Linked DNA regions of Homo sapiens: region 1 is linked to region 2. Evidence: promoter capture Hi-C in human tissues and cell types (Jung and others, 2019). All regions are on one chromosome and are shown on one strand. Each heading gives the region's core, a stretch centred on a gene start or on the middle of the fragment in contact. The rest is flanking DNA. Distances are from core to core; before and after follow the strand shown. Region 1 overlaps LOC105369673 (a long non-coding RNA gene). Region 2 holds the start of PTPRO (protein tyrosine phosphatase receptor type O).

Evidence for each region. The method cuts DNA at HindIII sites, captures the fragments that hold promoters and counts their contacts. A contact is called where the count stands out against the background at its distance.
Region 1: a contact is called between a fragment that was not itself captured here and the fragment with the promoter of PTPRO in region 2, in 1 of the 25 tissues and cell types used here (H1 embryonic stem cells).

What each region holds. Positions count from the first base shown.
Region 1 is chr12:15,276,655-15,282,719 of GRCh38, forward strand. All of the region lies in intron 2 of LOC105369673 (a long non-coding RNA gene), which reads right to left. Among named protein-coding and RNA genes, the nearest start is that of PTPRO, 43 kb to the right of the region's middle. The HindIII fragment of the contact is 4,141 bases long and covers 1,140-5,280 here.
Region 2 is chr12:15,318,041-15,324,239 of GRCh38, forward strand. It overlaps PTPRO (protein tyrosine phosphatase receptor type O), which reads left to right and starts at 4,468. Exons shown (of 27, transcript NM_030667.3): 1 at 4,468-4,761. The coding sequence starts at 4,687. The region is part of intron 2 of LOC105369673 (a long non-coding RNA gene); the gene reads right to left. The HindIII fragment of the contact is 7,625 bases long and covers 2,739-6,199 here.

The sequences.
Region 1 (6,065 bases), core at 1,960-4,459, 43 kb before region 2:
CGGAGAAAGGAAGGGAAGCAAACTTTGAAGGTGGAAATAAAGGAAAAGGTTGTGGGGGAAAAGAGAATGTTTTCACTTTGAGTTAAAAAAAAAAAAAGAGGGACAAAGAAGTGTCCAGTAGGGTACAGCCTGTCAGAAAACCCCAGACTGTGATACAGCTCTAACATATCCATTCATTCGTTCATTCATTTGTCCATCCGGTATTTATTAAGCAATTGTGTCTCAAGGAATGGAAAAAGGGGAAAAAATATTCTACCCTGAAAGAGCCAGTCCATTAGAACATTTCTTGAAAAGACTGAGAAAAAGAAAAATTCCATATGATAACTAGACTAAAACAAAAGAAAACTACAGAGCGATTGGAAAAGGAATTGGCAGAATTACAAACCATGTGAAGAATGAAGAGGGCGCCCTGCAGGGGTTATCAACAAGGAGTAATAGGGGGCCATGAGATCAGATAAAAAGTTAGAAACTGGGTGCTCCTGGGGAGTTGGGGGTTGAACATTTATTCGTAGGAAGGTTGGGACCCCATTTGGTGGGAGGAAGTTGGGACTGGAATTAGAAACAACAACAAAAAGTACTTGAGTTTCATCAGAGATTTCAGGACTGGCTCGTTGTATGACCTTGAGCGATTAGCTAAATCTTTCTAAGCTTCAATTCCTTCATCTGTAAAATGGATCCTGCAATAACTAACTAGGGGAGCTAATAAGGATGATAAAGGTGAAAACATAAGGGAGTGTGCCTGGAATAGAATTGTTCATTATATAATGTCAGTTGTTCTTCTTCCCTGTTGGACCATTTAAGAAAGTTAGCAAAAAATATACGGAGAGCAGGGCCCTCCGTGCTGAATAGCTAAACAGACACACTTTGATCCCAGAAGCCCAGCTCCTCCCCGGCACTCATACCTGCAGTAAAGGCAACGGTGATGGATTCCTGGCCTCAGAAATCCTGAGCTAGATTGATAGAGGCCCTATGCTGCATTCCACCAAGAGGCATGGAAACACACTGTTTGCCTTTTTATATAAACATATATACATGCTCCTCATGATAAGGAGAAAGAGAGAGAGACAGAGAGTTTAAACTATGAACCCTCTTTACACAGTACAATCCCATACTCCTGTTCATGTAACCACACAGCAGGCTGGGTTGTGGTCTCCTAGTTTTGACTGATGCGTGTGTGTGTGTGTCCGTGTGTGTGTGTCTGTGTCTGTGTATGTGTGTGTGTGTCTGTGCCTCTGTGTGTGTATATCCTCATATATGCATGTCCATGTACCTGTACCTGTAACTCAGATGCTGGCCATCTCCAGATGAACCCCATCTTTTCCCCTTTCCAACCTGGAAGCTGATGGTAGCATTTTTCTACACTCTACACAAAGGAAATTCACTCCACAGAGCATTAGGAGTGATGCAGAATTTGCTGAAGTCTTCTTCACCCTATGGCAATTCTTTTCTAAGTCTTCCTTCACCACCACCACCAGTTGGGAATTTGCTTCTCTTTGACCTTCCCTAACACTGCACCGAGCCTTGAACCTGCCCACTGCCCTCCTTTATAATACTGAGCCTCTGCCTCCTTCCCCTTGAACTTCAGCCCTCAGGCTGAGGCACTTTTCTGATGTACAAGGGTCTTTTCAAAGCTTCTTTTCAGCAAAGATGATCCCTTCCTAAAAATAATTTCTGTGCCAGTTATCATAAAGATTAATAATTTTCTCCACATTATAATGTCTATATGACTATAACCGCATACATTATTACATATAGAAATGTTTTTAACATGAAATGGAATCATATGATCATATCATGCATATTGTTTTCTGATTTTCAGTTGCTCCTCAATTATATATTTTGTGTATCTTTCCAACTTATTAGAAATAAGTCAAACTCATTTTTTTAAATTACTGAATAAAATTAGTACTTTAATGTGAGACAAGGTCAATTTCTTTGTGCTGCAATTTTGTTATTGACAAGATAGAACATAATAACACAGAGTTATAATGAGAATTCCTCAGCTACAATATTAGAGACCTTCAGTTGCTTAGAAGAAGTGAGATACTTAAATAATAAAAATTACATTAGCTATATAAATAATGCTAATAAAAGTTGCTAATATTTCATCAGCATTTTTCTATGTGCCAGGACCTATTCATACTCATTTATATGCAACAACTCATTTAATCCTCATAGCAACCCTATGAAGGAGATACTATTATTATTCCCATTTTATAGATGATCTTTCTGAGTCATGGGAAAGTCAGTAAATTGCTCAAGGCAACATAGCCAATAAGTGACATTGCCAAAATGCGTGAGTCTGGCTCTAGAGTCTGTGTTGTTAATCACTAAACCATCTATCATCATCTCCAACAGGAAATACTTTGTACAGGCTTGCTTGCCAGGGACCTGAACTGGCTGTCGTTGACCAAATTTAATAAACGTGCTCACTGCAAGTGGCGCTCCAGCTGATCCTGGCTTGGGGCTCTCTGCACTGCTCCAAATCAGGCAGCCAGGCCAAAAGAAGATATGTAGAGTCCATGGGGAACAAAGCGAGGCAAGGTCTGCTGAGCAAGGCATGGCTTAGAGGGAAAAGTGGGGTTGTGGGGAGAAGCTACAAGGAGACAGAATAAAATAATGAAGAGGAGTGCTGCCAGGCACCTGGCCCAGCTGAGGAAGCCTCTGAGGTGCGCATGCCAAATCTCAGCAGCTCCAAGCCCAGCTCCCAGAATAGCTGGAAGGAGGCACACTGCCAGCGAGCCACTTATTACAGCCAGAGCTGGGAGCACTTAATCAGATGCATCCGGTTTGTGTTCACAAGATATTAGGCGGAAATATGTGGTCAACTGCAATGAATTGGCATGCCCTGTAGTGGGCCAGCCATTGCCGGAAGCCATGTCTCCCACAAATTGAAACCTAATCTTTCTCTCCTCTAAGTGCCTGCCACAACTAACTGATTATGTACATTTAATCTCTGTCTGATATACTATCTAAGGAAGAGGAAATATTTCTTTTTTGTGATGGCTCTATGGAATTGAGAGTGCATAAAGCTAGTAGGACCACATACATGGAACACCCAGGGCAGGTATCCATCAGATAAGGCCAGTCTCCGACCTCCAGCAGGTTACTACACAGTGAATGTCACCTGATGCATCAGGCCCAGGAAGGCTGGCATAGAAAACGTGAAAACATCATGGAGAGGGTTAAGATGACCCTAAGGATTGCTGCCAGGAATTCCCACAAATGACATATCATTGTTGCTAGTTGGCTCCAAAGTCCTCCTGAATTAAGAGCTAACAGTTGGCGATCTCAGTGTATTTGGGGTGTTTACTATTCTTTTGAGTATTTTTTTTCTCCTAAAATTGCATTGCAGACACTCCTGGTGTCCTGTCCAGATTCCCTTACCAGGCCAGTGCACTCATCAACCAGTCGCTGTGACTGTTCCAGAGGATTGCCACCTTACCAGGACATGACTGGAAAAATTGTACTAATCCCACAAGTGTCCTATGGCCTGTGGCAGACTGAAGTGAGGTTACAACAGTTCAGCCACCTCACCCATGGGCAACGCAAACTTTTTATTGCATTTAAACATCAAAATTCCTTGGGGGATCAGTCTGAAGCTAATATTCTCCTAAAACCTTGATTTACCTAGCTTATCTTGCCCTATCTTGCTTCCCTTCCTCCCCTATAGCTTTGTCCTGAAAGTGTTCCCTCAGTAATTCACCTGGACAAAAATCCCTGCCTCAGGCTCTGCTTCTCAGAACCCTGGCCTAAAACAGCATGTAAAATCCTTGTCAGCAAAGACCTTATAGTAAACACACGCCACCAGAGCAATACAATGCAGTTTCCCCAATCTCAGCTATTCATACACACTGCCTACATTATTTTCCCATATTTGCATATTGCTTATACAGCTATTTACCTAACAGTTGTTTGTAAGTAGTTTTCAAACTAACTCCTTTTTCAAAAAACTAGCCTTACCCTAAAAAAATCATAATTCTGCAACCCTGATTTTGAGGCACTAATGAGATTTACCAATTACACAGTGAAATAATGTGTGTATATACATTTACATATGGGCATTAATCTATGTATAACTTAAAATTATTCCATCTTTCACCATGAATTATATGTACATGAACCACATCTTTAAAAACATCATAAAATGAAAAGCATGGTTTGTAAAATCTGTTATTCTACTTTATAGTACTGCTACAGAGCTATCTCATATTGAAGGTAGAATAAATTCTTGCTGATGTTTCTAAATTCAATAAATACTTTTAAATTTTCTCTTAGCCCATGATCTTGCCAATAGTTCTAAGGGGGATGAGTGAAACATGACGTAAAAAGAGGAAAGAAGTATCAATTTTTTAAAATAAAGAAATAATTAAAAAATCCTTAGCATTCTATCTTCAGTGCTTAGATTTTTCTGGGATCATCTGCTAATCTGCTCCTGTCACACAGGAACACTTTACTCAATGATTGAATTGACAGTGACTTGCAAGGAAAGAGGAGCTTCCAGAAACTTGAATTTCCTATTGCAAGGATGATTATCTGACATCATGAAACTCAGATACTCCTTTCAGAAAAGGAAGAGCCATTGGCAGCCATTATGGCAGGTTTTGGACCATACAGGAATGCTTGACATTGCACATTTTCCTCCAAGTTGTAGCAATGAGTTAAACCGCATGACCCTCACAAAGAGTATTTCAATGTGGAAGGTAAAAAGCCAACTGTCAACAAAATACTTTAGAGTCAGGATTTTGATTCTCATCTCCAGCGTAATGTCTTTTCTGATCCATTCATCCTTCATACATTCTTTTGGGAACAATCTAGTACTGAGGAAGTAGAAGCCTAAAGACCACAGTATCTTGAAATACATGCTTTGCACAGTTGCAAAGGTTGCCAAAATCATACATTTCAAACCTGACAGGACAAGTTTAAAATTAGACACTACAGAAACATTGCACCTCTAAATCAGGGAAATGAGTGCAAGCTTGGTATTAAAAAAACCTACTTAACTGTCATAAAATTCTTTCCAAAACTAAAACCTGTTCTTTAGAAAGTAATTCTTCATGTTTTTATCCACCTGGACATGCTTCATTGAATGACAAGATCTGCTGACAGCAGAACTTCAGCTCCATTAATGTATCGATTAATATATCTGTGCATAGAATTTCCTGGTACTGGGTATAGGATTTCTCTGATGCAGGAAAGTACATCAATTTGGTCTTATTCTTTAACTGGCAAGGAGTTTTCTTTTACAAGAGATTTGGTTATATATTCCAGTAGTAGTTACATGAGTTTAATTTTTTTAAGTGCAATCCCTATATGTCCCTTCATTCTCAGAAGGTTTTCTTCTTAAAGGCTCGTTATTGTGACAGTAGTTGCCTGAGTGATCTGTCTGCTTCCATTACTCAATAGCTATAGCCTTAGGAGTCTAATTCTGTCCTTTCTTGTAGCTCTCTAATTTAGCTGAGTGTATCAACAAGAGACATTATACCTTAAAGCCAAGCCAATCCTCTCTCCATGGTGGAATGTGGACCAAAATATAAGAACTTTTAATTATATATTTTAAATTTAAAAAATAAGAAAGTAAGCTTTTCTAACACATCATATATGGATTTATACTGGTGTCCTAATGTATTCATATGGAAAAGAAGCAAGTGTCACATATGGTCACCAAGGCATGCTGGGAGAAAGGCAGAAATTCTAAGTATAGAGGAGGGGTCAGTGCTGGCTTCATGCCATAGACTTCATGCCATCTTGCAAAAAACATGGACTAAACATAATACCAATAATTCACAGACAAAGAAAAATTGGCAGAAACTTCCATTTCTAATTTGATCTCTTTATAAGCACATCAAAAGGTTGAAAACAATGAGGATGTAATTAGATAAGACAGGAAGTAAGCCAAAATGATTTGAAATTATCCAGGCTGTTTGAATCTCATGCTAGGTGTGTTTGCTGCTTTGAAATGTTTGCAAATGATAATGTGGAGCCATCATGATTAGTGAGACGTTTGGGATCTGAGCATCCAGAGAACGCACACAAACATTTACAATTTTTTTCCAGTGATGTTT
Region 2 (6,199 bases), core at 3,218-5,717:
GTCTGGAACATTCAGAAAAAATATTTTAGAAGTTCATTAGTCAAGGCATTTCATATAAATAAAATATGAGATAAAATCATATAACTTAAGGCTAATGCCTTTTATTAAAGTTTTAGAGCAATTAAATGAAATGCTAGCAACAAACAGAATCCTAGTATATGACTGAATGAAGGTATAATATCTAAAAACACGACAATCTGCATTTCTAATGTAGGGCTGTTTATCCTATAGCCTGTAATTTGTGTCCAGTGATATATATCTGCATATCTGCTCACACTTTCTATGTATGTTTCCTTATTTCTTTAAGTATATAATTTTGTGTTGTAAGACATATCTTGTAATGCAATATTCTTATTTGATTTTCTTTAAGACATGTAAGAGTCAAGTACAAGTAAGATAGGTCTCTTAATAGGAATCTTTTGCGGCGGGAGAGGGGAATATAATGGGAAAAGACTCTCCAAGTAAAAGCAAAAATGACCTTCTTTAGCGTATTTCCACTGTTTTTCAAGTGCAGCAAGAGTAATAAGTCTTGGCAGTTGGAACATGCCATTCACCTGAGGGCTGTCAATCGTTCTCATTTTGAAAGACACAAAACTTATGAATTGTCAACACATCATTTAGGTGAGAAACCAGTGCTCATCAAGAGAAAAAATTAAAACAAATGCTCAAATAAATAGAAAATCAAAATGCTTCCTGGTCATTTTCTTCCAAGAGCTTAATACAGATAATCTACAGTTCATATGCTATAAAAATTGTAACATGTGAGATATGGACAACAAACTGAATGGCTATTACTTTTCCAATGGAATAGAGTCTAGAGAACAATTGCTTGAATTTTTCTTTCTATTCCATATAAAGTAAATTATTTGTCATTGAGCATCCCCCATAAATACAATTATCTAATACTGAAACTGCTGACAGCCTTGTAGGCTATTTCAGTAGTGGAAGCCAGGACTAAACACACTCAACTACATTAGAGGTTGTCCCTGGAGGACAGAATTGAGCTTCATTGGCAAGGGCACCGTAAGAGTTCCATTTGACTCCTCATTAAACCTCTCACAGGGATTCTAGCTGCTTCTCTGTGTCTGCGCTTGCTTTTCTATAGAAGAGATAGATGTGAACCACGTAGGCAAAGATACATTTCTACATATTTAGGAAAAGATCGCTTTTCTTGGTAAAAACTAAGCCTCCTATAGATTTTAAAAAGACCTTCCAGTTTCATGATCATTAACCACCTTTTTATAATTTTCAAAGGAAGTAGAGAGCTTTATTTCAATTTGTGAGAACTTATTTTTCAATGCTTGTTTTATGGCATGTCAGAGATATTATTATTTTTCTGTGTTTATTTTTTCTCCAGGAAAAGTAGCATTAGGGGAAAACAGTTGGTGATAATGATCTCAGCCTTCTTTACCTAACAATGTGGTTGTCATAATGAAATCTGGACCAATATGTAGAAGCAATTGGTGAAACATAAATTACTATATGCACTGTATGTTGCCCCTGGCTGTTTTGTTGATTTGGAGTCTTGAAAATAGCATAATAAGATTTATCATACTTTGGAAGTATTGTATTGAAAAACCAGTCAATAGCTCAAAGAAACACAAAACATGCTCTATGAATTGAAAACCCCACACTGTGGATGACACAGCATTCACATTCTTTATGAGAATCTCTTCTAGGACACTGTTATGGTTTAAGTGCAATAAAAACAAATGAAAGTATTTTATCCAGCAATAGCAATGTAAAATACTTTTCTCTAGAGAGGAAATTTTCTGTGATTATAAAATAATACTTTCAGTCTTCAGCCCATCTAACCACAATGTTACTAATAAAATAACAACAATGCCAATTACTAATGCTTTACTACTTACTGTTTACTGTTATTGTTCCTCCAAAGTGGTCCACATAATATATATATATATATATATATATATACATATATATATATATGCACAAAGACAGAAAGAGCTGAACAAATTGTGATGTATGACTAAGAGAAAAACAGAAAGACGCAGCAGAATATGATTATTTAAAAGGGAGCCTCATTGTGAAAGTTCTTTTAGCATTTACAAGATTAATTTATGATCAGAACTGCTTTAAACGCCCTACGCACATCAGGCAAGGCTATATCCATGTATACACACAGACATATGCATACACACAAATGAATATCATCATACAGACCCATAATTCACAGACACATTTTAAAATTAAATGCTACTCCAAAGAGAAATTGTTGGCATCCTGTGAGTGTGATTGTTGCCCTTGGCCTATATATATCTTATGTTCTAGAGATTAGATCACTTTACAGCCACTTCTGAGGGCGAGTGGGAATAAAATGCTGCTTCAGGAGCGTCAAAATAAAAAGAAAACATATTAAACCAAAGTTCCTATAAGTGCAATCCCAAGGATTAAATGTTCAGATAGCCCGTAAGTCTAACCCAGAGGGAGGGAGGAGCAGTTAACATTTTCTCAAAAGAAAGAAAATGTCCAAACCAATGATGAGTGGACATGAGGGACCTGAAGAGAGCATGTGATGGGAATGTGAAAACAAAAGAAGCTTCTAAAAGAAGACACCAAGGATAATATTCTCACAAAAATTCAGACCATCATTCTATATTTTCATGCATATGAATTTTGGTACATATTTCATGCATATGAAATTTGGTACATATATACATATATGTACCATGCATATACATATGCGTACATATACATATACGTATGCATACACATATGTATCTATGTACACACATACACATATGTGTACACACATATGTACATGCACACACATATGTGTACACATATGTACATGCACACACATGTGTGTACACATATGTACATGTACACATATGTGTACATGTACACATGTGTATATATACATATTCACACTTATGTAAACATATTCAATCTAAAGCTTCCTTAAGACACATACAAACAACAACCAAATGATTAGTGTTTGGCCATTGCTCATGCAGCAAAAGCTGAGTAAACACAGCTCTGGATCCTTTTCTCAGGCCACCACTCCCTAGCTGTGTGACTGACAAAGTCTATGCCTGAACACCTACATTCATGACCAGGGTGGCCTTTCCTGTCTCCTGTTGCCCAAGCATGTCTCAGGTATAAATAAGTTCCAATACTGACAGGGCACAGCAAGGGTAATTTACATGACAATAAGAAATGATTTCTATCTGAACAGTGCATACCAGAGTTGATTTCGACAGACTTATCTTTAAAAAAATACACATAACAAAAAAGGAGACAAGTAGTAGATTGGGGACCCACAGCTTGAAAGTCGTTGCTTGTGATTCTAAAACATCCCAGTAAAATTATTCACAGATAATTGTTTAAAAATATAACTGTACATACCGTTGACACTTGGACAACACAGAGAATCACGTAGTTGAAAATCCACATATAACTTTGAACTCATCAAAACCTTAACTACTAATAGCCTACTCTTGACCGGAAACCTTACTGATAACATAATAAACAGTTGATTAACACACATTTTGTGTTGTATGTATTGTATACTGTATTCTTACAATAAAGTACGCTAGAGAACAGAAAATATTATTAAGAAAACCATAAAGAGGAGAAAATACATTTATATTCATTGAGTGGAAGTGAATTATCATAAAAGTCTTTAACGTCATCCTTTTCAGGCTGAGCAGGCAGAGGAGGAGGAAGAGGGTTTGGTCTTGCTGTCTCAAGGCTGGCAAAGGTGGAAGAAAATCTGCATATAACTGGACCCAACAGTTCAAACCCGTGTTGTTCAAGGGTCATACATGTAAAATACTGTGATTTTTCCCCCTTCTATATTCAGCTTCAGGTGACCCGACACACTTTGGTATCAAAAGAGAATCTGAAATGTACAAGAACTGCGGATTTCAAATGGAAAAGGTGCATAATTGTGCTATTTGTTCCTGGGTGAGTGTGGGACGGAGACGGTGAGAGTGTTGAAATGGGATGGAGATAATGGAAGCAGTGGGGAAGGAGAGAAAATACCCTTCCTATCACACACACTCACACACTCACACTACACACTATTTCTACAGTCACAACTACCCAACTGTTATTGATCCTTTATAACTGCAATTGAGTACAGATGTAGGAAGATTGAGAGGGAACTGGGATCTGGCGCCTGGATTGCTCAAGAGAGGTCAGGGAAACCCCTCAGAACTCCTGAGACCCAGAGATTGAGGGAGGGGTTGAGGCGGAGTCTGCAATGGGGGCTGTCCAGCAGTAGCAAGCAGCGGGCCGATCCTGGTGGAGGGTTGGGAGGCTGCTGTCATTTTATGGGTCGGCAGCCAGAGTGAGAGTGTCCCTGCTGCCAGAGGACTACGGCGGGCTGGGCGCGGGGTCCCCGCCTCTCGCTCACCACACAGACCCCGCGCCTCCTCTGGCAGCCGCGGTGGTGGCGGCGGCAGAGCCTCGCCCACTCCAATCCCCACCCTCTCCATCCTTAGTCATTAAAGAACAGCAGCGCCTGGCACGTTCTTGGAGGACCCCGGGCGCAGAGGAGGAAAGGGAGCAGGCGCAGGGGGACTGGAAAGGCAGCATGCGCTCGCCAGGAGCAACCTCGGCGCCCAGGGTCTGAGGCTGCAGCCCCAGTTCGCCATTGTGAGCCGCCGCCGGGGGAGTCCGCTAGCGCAGCCGTGCCCCCGAGTCCCCGTCCGCGCAGCGATGGGGCACCTGCCCACGGGGATACACGGCGCCCGCCGCCTCCTGCCTCTGCTCTGGCTCTTTGTGCTGTTCAAGGTAGGGGAGCTCCTCCACCCCTTTTTCCCAGCGGTCCGGGCGGCAGCCGCGCTCCGGCGCCCTCGCTCTGCCGTTGGGAGCGGCGCGCCCCAGGGCACGATGGCCCAGCCGCGGGAAGCGCCTGCCGTGCAGCCTGGGCGCACGCTTTGTTGTCCTCGCGTGTGCGTGTTCCTGGTGGTCTTGAGAGGTAGGGGGCGGGGGGAAGAATAAGGGAAGTTTGCTCCCTCCGGCTTTCGCCCTTTGTGCTCTTTTATCGCTGCTGAAATCCACATCAAAGGTGGGCTTGTTGGATCGTGCTTTCTCAGGCAAAATGAGGTCACTTTCTTTTCTGGTTTCCACTGCACCCCAACGCTGCTTAACCTTTCCGCCCTCCCTCGCACAGAATGCTTTGTCTTAATTTTCCTTACTGCTGGAATTATACACTGGAGAGTGGAGGGGGACTGAGCTCCCTGGACACAAATGGACTGCCAGGGCTACGTTAGGGCAGAATTTTCTTTGAATAAGGAGTGTCAGGTAGAGAGCTTGGTAAGGATTCCTCTCCCCAACTCCTATCAACATCTTTACAATTCCTTTTAAAAAGTCTCCAGACTTTCTCCACTATATTTACAGATGATATTACCCCTAGATTTAATGGTGGAAAAATATATAATAATAAACTTTTTCGTATCTTCTTTGGAATGTGCTACCCTGAGGTTTTACTTTGAGAAAAATGAAAAGCAAAGGAGTTGCTTTTGAAAAATCAGTTTGACAACTATACTGTACATAAATTTTTTTGAAGAAATGTCAGCTAGATGTTTTCTTGGACGGCGATGTGAAGTTCTGAAGTGATTGTCTATCACTCATGTCTTCAGTGGATCTACTTTAGTTCTGTTGTTAGTCTTTTCCTCTCTCCGCAAAGCAAACTCAAGAATGTCGACAGGTGACTTGGAGCTATCCTTTCAGGACCACAGTGATACCTTCCCTAGAAATGGATGCCAGGTTAATGGATCCAAAGGTTTTCTTATTATAGAGTCACTTCTTGCTTATATGCACCATTAATTATGAATGCCTAAAAAGAATATAATGGAACAGGACCAATGGATTAAGAACAGCATTACTTTTAAATACTCCATATTTTCATTTATCTTAATGAAAAATATAAAAAAAATTCAGGGAGAAACAGCAACAGAATGCCTAAGTAAGACCTTAAAATATATTTAATATGTTTTAACATTTTTTCTTAAATTATCAATAATCATTAATTTTAAAGTATGGTAAATAATAAGCTCAGTTATATGTTTTTACTGTAGGAGGTTGTTCTTTCATACACATCATAAATGCATTAGACTTATTAGGTTGTCTATTAGTCGTTTTCTAACTATTTATCAAACTGTCACAACTATTTTACCTATGCAATAATTGTCATGAACCAAAAATTAGAAACCAAGTCACTATGCAT